Linked DNA regions of Homo sapiens: region 1 is linked to region 2. The links are contacts of gene promoters, found by promoter capture Hi-C in human tissues and cell types (Jung and others, 2019). All regions are on one chromosome and are shown on one strand. The core of a region is centred on a gene start or on the middle of the fragment in contact, and the rest is flanking DNA. Distances in the headings are between cores, read along the strand shown.

Evidence for each region. Contacts are between HindIII fragments. The study calls those that stand out against the background at their distance.
Region 1: a contact is called between a fragment that was not itself captured here and the fragment with the promoter of ZDHHC1 in region 2, in 1 of the 25 tissues and cell types used here (dorsolateral prefrontal cortex).

The regions. Positions count from the first base shown.
Region 1 is chr16:67,100,775-67,104,095 of GRCh38, reverse strand. It overlaps CBFB (core-binding factor subunit beta), which reads right to left. Exons shown (of 6, transcript NM_022845.3): 6 at 3,038-3,321. Among named protein-coding and RNA genes, the nearest start is that of PHAF1, 7.5 kb to the left of the region's middle. The HindIII fragment of the contact is 4,683 bases long and covers 1-3,321 here.
Region 2 is chr16:67,414,985-67,418,118 of GRCh38, reverse strand. It overlaps ZDHHC1 (zDHHC palmitoyltransferase 1), which reads left to right and starts at 1,642. Exons shown (of 12, transcript NM_001323627.2): 1 at 1,642-1,948. It overlaps LOC124903702 (a long non-coding RNA gene), which reads right to left and starts at 2,216. Exons shown (of 2, transcript XR_007065093.1): 1 at 1,976-2,216. RefSeq lists an enhancer at 1,096-1,753 and a silencer at 1,586-1,975. The HindIII fragment of the contact is 12,498 bases long and covers 1-3,134 here.

The DNA of each region.
Region 1 (3,321 bases), core at 276-2,775, 310 kb after region 2:
ACTCTTTCGCCCAGGCTGGAGTGCAGTGGTGCAATCTCGGCTCGCTGCAAGCTCCGCCTGCTGGGTGCATGCCATTCTCTTGCCTCAGCCTCCCAAGTAGCTGGGACTACAGGCGCCCGCCACCACGCCCAGCTAATTTTTTGTATTTTTTAGTAGAGACGGGGTTTCACCATGTTAGCCAGGATGGTCTTGATCTCCTGACCTTGTGATCCACCCGCCTCGGCCTCCCAAAGTGCTGGGATTACAGGCGTGAGCCACCGCACCCACCCTCAAAACATCTCTTTAGGGAAGCTTTTATTCACCACCCAGACTAGAATAGATGTACTATAAGAGCCAGTACTTCTAATGTAACTTAAACAGTGTTACTGCCTTTGGTCAGCTTTTTAGCTAGACTGTAGATTCCTTGTGAGCAGGGAACATGTTTATTTTGGACACTGGATATTTCCCCCCCTAAATGATAACCATACTTTTAGTCTCCAAAAAAAAAATAGAACTTCAACATTTTCCATTTTTATTTTTATAGGTAATATCTTGCTCTGGTGGCCCAGGATGGAGTGCGGTGGCAAGATCATAGCTCACTGCAACCTCAAAATCCTCGGCTCATGCGATCTTCCCACTCCAGCCTCCCAAGTAGCTGGGACTTAGAGGTGTGCACCACCATGCCTGGCTAATTAAGAAAAATATTTTTGTGCAGATGAAGGTCTTGCTATCTTGCCCAGGCTGGTCTTGAGCTCCTGGCCTCAAGCAATCCTCCTGCCTCAGCCCCCCAAAGTGCTGGGATTACAGATATGAGCTACTGTGCCTGGCCTTTTATTTTTATCTACAACATCTCCTCAACATTTCTGAAATCTGAATGAGGCCAATAACGACCTTAATTCTAAGTTGCTTAAATTTTCTAACCAAAAGCTGGGAGTTGACTAAAACAGTGACTTATCTGTTTCAGAATATTCCATATTTAAACAAACTAAACTGCCATTTCCATCCATGATTTCACCCTGTGACTGTCATTTTTTAGCTTTGGAACATTTCTGAAATGCCATATATGAATATATGATGGTGATGCAAGAAAAGGGGTTGATGCTATCTAGGGGGAATCATGTATTCAAATCTGCAAGACTGAAATCTTACCTTTAAAGAATGTTTAGATTAAAACACCAAAGGTATCTTTTTTTTTTGAGATGGAGTCTCGCCCTGTTGCCCAGGCTGGAGTGCAGTGGTGCGATCTTGGCTCACTGCAAGCTCCACCTCCTGGGTTCGCACCATTCTCCTGCCTCAGCCTCCCGAGTAGCTGGGACTACAGGCGCCCGCCACCACACCCGTCTAATTTTTTGTATTTTTAGTAGAGACGGGGTTTCACCGTTAACCAGGATGGTCTCGATCTCCTGACCTCATGATCTGCCTGCCTCGGCCTCCCAAAGTGCTGGGATTACAGGTGTGAGCCACCGCGCCCGGCAAAACACCAAAGGTATCTTATACTCAGTTACGTATATTTGGTAATATCACCATGGTGGTTTAGAAAGATGTCCACAAATGCTTTGACATCCCCGCCTTCAACAGATGAAGCTTAATATTCCTCCCCCTTTGAGTGTGGACCAGACCCAGTGACTTGATTCTAACATACAATATGGCAGCCCAAGATTCAGTTCTAAGACTGTGCTTTTGGCTGGGCATGGTGGCTCACACCTGTAATCTCAGCACTTTGGGATGCCGAGGCGGACGAATCACTTGAGGTCAGGAATTTGAGACCAGCCTGGCCAACATGGTGAAACCCCGTCTCTATGAAAAATACAAAAATTAGCCGGGCATGTTGATGGGCACCTGTAATCCCAGCTACGTGGGAGGCTGAGGCAGGAGAATCGCTTGAACCCGGGAGGGGGAGGTTGCAGTGAGCTGAGATTGCAGCACTGCAGTCCAGTCAGTCTAGGCAACAGAGCGAGACTCCATCTCAAAAAAAAAAAAAAAAAAAAAAAAAAAAAGACTGTGCTTTCAACTTGGGTGTGCGCTCTCTTGGATCACTTGCCTTGGGGGAAGCCAGCTACCCTGCTGTGCACTGTCCTATGGAAAGACCCAGCTGGGCATGAAATGGAAGCAGGTCTCTGTCCAACATCTAGCAAGGAACATCTGCCTTTCATCTAGCAAGCTGCAAAGAACCGAGGCCAGTCAGTGACCACATTAGTGGGTTTGAAAGGGGATCTTTCATCCAGTCAATCCTTGAGATGACTGTAGCCCAGGATGACTCTAACCTTATGAGGAACTCTGAACCAGAACCATTGATCTTAGCTACTTCCAGATTTGTGACTCACCTGTGGGATAATACGTATTTATTGTTTTAAGCTGCTAAGTTTTGGGGTAATGTGTTATGGATAATACAATGGTTTATAGATTGAAAAGCTCCTCATTGCCAAATGAGGCATAAATCAAGTAAGATATTTTTCACCAAGCAGCCCCGAGCTAGCATATCCAATTATGTTTCTAGAAGTGATATACTTACTAAAACCATGCTGTTACTGCTCAATTTTTTGAAATTAACTCTCAGAGCATGAATCCTACTCTTTGGAATTTCCCTTAATGGTGTCAATTCAGAATTTAAAGGCATTTTTGTCATTTGCAGTAAGTCTTGTGGTTAATGAGTGAATCTGTTTATCATGTGTCAAGCTTAAGGCATACTTTCAAGGAAAAGGGCTTACTTTTCTGTTGTAGGAAAATGCCAGGAGTCTTAAGAATGTTTGATATAACACCAGCACAATCAAAACGGCTGTATATTTCCAAAACAACTAGCTTGAAAGATGGAACTAATTTGGATGTGTAATTTAAAATTCTTTCTCCCAACATCACTACTTTATGGTCATATCTCACAGGATGGGTAAATCAAGCCAGATTTCTTGAAAACCATAATATACACTGGGGGATTTGTATACCTTGTGATACCTATATTTAAAGTAGTCTTCTTTGGAATCAACAGAAATTACCACTAGATGCCACTGTTGTTGCTTTCTTAGAAATTACTGGGTTAGGTCAAGAAAGAGCCAAGACCCTGTTTTTACTACACAGAAGTTTATTGTGAAAGTAAATTAAACAAACAAACACACAGTATGGCCAATGGTGGCAAAAGCAATCTGGTAGCTTAAGGCAAGTTTTAATGGAGATGAATTTAGAAAAGATGATGCAATGATGTAATTTTGTTTAAATATAGATTATGAAAAAATATCAAATTGCATCAATAACTTAATAGAAGTAGTTTTCAAAGCCTGTACTACTGGAGAAAAAGGGCTCATGATCTTAATGCCAGCATTAAGACAGACAGAAGCAGCATGGTGCTAA
Region 2 (3,134 bases), core at 393-2,892:
TCAGCCTCCTTAAAGTGCTGGGATTACAGGTGTGAGCCACTGCATCCAGCCTCATCCTTCACCTTGATTTCTGGGTCATGATCTCTGTTTGACCCGAAGTTTTCCAATTCCAGATAAGAGTTAAGTAGTCAGCTTGTACTCTGAAGCCAGAATAGCATTGATATTTATCTCACATTGAGTTTGAGTTTATCAGTCTTGAAAACAAGAATTTAAGTAATAGGTTATGTCACTTGCACAAGGACCCACACACCTGTCATGTGACAGAGAAGGAGTAGTTATGTTGCCTAATAAAACATACAATAAGTATGCTTGTGACTTATACATTTTAGAGATAAGGATGTTTTCTTTCCCTATCTGTCATATCTGCCTTGGAGATGCGCACAGGACAGATAGCAGAAGACAAAGTGTCTTCCTGTCTTTTGAGAAAGCCTGAGCTCATAGAAGATTCCATTCTGAGTGTCCACAAGGAGAAGAGGAGAGGGGACTTTTAGGGAAACCAAGTTAGCAGGGAAGTCTCCCAGGTAGAGAAAGGGAAGGGAGGCTGCAGGCCATGGAGCAGAGGAAGCAGGTGTCTGTCCCTGGCAGCCCCAGGGAGAGGCAGGGGCCTCAGGCAGGGATGGCCTCATAGAGCCCAAACCTGAAAATCTTTGTGGACTGGAGCAATGGTTGTGGCCTCAGTACCAGACAAAACCCTGACCAGAGAGTTTTTTGCTTATTTGTTTTTGATTGTTGTTTTTTGCTATAGGAAAACATGAGTCCTTTGGAATTACCTAGCTAAAAGGAGTACAGTGGAGACTGAGACTGAATTTCCCGGCCGGGCAGGGGCTCACGCCTGTAATCCTAGCACTTTTGGAGGCTGAGGTGGGCGGGTCGCTTGAGTTCAGGAGTTCGAAACCAGCCTGGGCAACATGGCAAAACCACGCCTCTACAAAAAAATGCGAAAATTAGTCGGGCGTGGTGGTGTTCGCCTGTAGTCCTAGCTACTCTGGAGGCTGAGGCGGGAGGATCGCCTGAGCCCAGGAGTTCGAGGCTGCAGAGAGCCGTGATCGTGCCACTGCACTCCAGCCTGGGTAACAGAGACCAGTTTAAAAAATAGAAAAAGACTGAATTTCCCATCAGCCTGGAAGATTGGGGCTTGATTTTTGCTTGATTTAAAGGCAATAAATAAATGAGATATTTTGTGCTGCTTATTTTAAGCTCTTACGCTTCTCGCTTTATATTCTGGGGTACCTGCATTTTTAGTGGTGTAATTTATTTGTCTAGATCTGTTTGCCTCTTAACCTGTAAGCTCCCGGAAGGGTCGGGATATCATGGATGTTCCAGCACATACGCTCATTGAAGTGTGCAGGTTGACTGGGGTTGGGGGAGGTCTCTTCTTGAGAGCGGTGGTCTCAGGATAGAAACTGGAAGGGGGCGCTTTTGAGATGTTAGGATTTCGGGGAGACAAGCTGTGACTCGGGAGTAGGGAAAAGCGGATTTTCTAGACGAAAGGTTAGGAAGAATCTGGGAATGGGCCGACTGGGGCACCAAGAGGGTCCCTGGCAAGCCCCGCCCTGGCCGGGGGACCGGCGCGGAGTGACGCAGCGCGGTTTGGCCGCTGTGGGGCGCCGTAGCCCGCGCCGTTGTCAGGGGAACGGGCCCAGCGCCGGACGAGGCCCAGCCAGTCTGGGTCTGGCCTGGCCGCCCCTCCAGCCTGCTGGAGCCGGAGCCGGAGCCGGAGCCGGAGCCGGAGCCGGAGCCAGAGCCAGAGCTCGAGGACTCACCGGCCCAGTCTCCGTCCGGGATGGGGCCCCGCTCCCGGGCGCGTTGCCGCCCAGTCCCGGGGACCGTCCCTACCGCGAGGGTCTGAGGCGCGGCTGCCCCGGGGAGGGTGGAAGGCCAGGCGTGGGGCCCGAACCTCTGGCTGACTTTGGCAGGGCCCATCTGGCACGGCCTCCGCGGCGCGCAGGTGAGGAGTCCCCGCCCGGTTTCTCACCTCGGAGCCTGGCTTGAGCCACGGGGTAGCGGATGCTGCCGCCTGGCCGGCTTTGGGCTCGCTTCCGCCTGGAGCCGGTGGCCTGAGTTCCAGGGCCCCGGCAGAGCGCGGGGCTTCCTTTTAGCATGCATCAAGTTCACAGATCTTCCTTGAGCGCTTACTCTTTGCCAGGCTCTGTGCCAGGCGTGGGCACAGAGGACTCCCAACAGACGTGGTCTGTCTCCAGAACCCAGAGCATTAAGGAAGGGGGCTGGGAAGCGGATGTCATACATGACTAAAGTGATTTCAGGTCGGGTTAGGCTCTCTGGTATTGAAATGGAGGGGTTGGTCATGGAGGGTCTGTTTTAAAAGGAAACCATGGGAAGAGTTTTAGTTTTTTCTTTGAGACGGAGTTTCGCTCTTGTCACCCAGGCTGGATGGAGCGCAGTGGCACGACTCGGGTCATTGCAACCTCCGCCTCCCGGGTTCAAGCCATTCTGCTGCCTCAGCCTCTGGAGTAGCTGGGATTACAGGCGCCCGCCGCCACGCCCGGCTAAGTTTTATATTTTTAGTAGGGACGGGGTTTCACCATGTTGGCCAGGCTGTTCTCGAACTCCTGACCTCAGGTGATCCACCCGCCTCGGCCTCCGAAAGCGTTGGGATTACAGGTGTGAGCCACCGTTCCCAGCCAATTTTTTATTTTTTTGAGACAAGGTCTCCCTTTGTCACCCAGGCTGGAGTGCTGTGGTGTGAACATGGGTCACCGCAGGCTCCGGCTCCCGGGCTCAAGCGATCCTCCCGCCTCAGCCTCCCAAGTAGCTGAGACTACAGATACCCGCCACCACGCTCAGCTAATTTTTTAAGGTTTTGGTAGAGATGAGGTCTTACTATTTTGCCCAGGCTGGTCTCGAGCTCCTGGTCTCAAGGGATCCTCTTGCCTCAGCCTCCCAAAGTGCTGGGATTACAGGTGTGAGCCACTGCAAGCGGCAGAAGAGTTTTTTATTTTTTGTTTATTTTTATTTTTATTTTCCAGATGGAGTCTCGCTCTGTCACCCAGGCTGGACTGCAATGGCACAATCTCGGCTCACTGCAACCTCCACCTCCCGGGTTCAAGCGATTCTCCTGCCTCAGCCCCCCAAGTCTGGGATTACAGGCGCCTGCCACCACACCCAGCTAATTT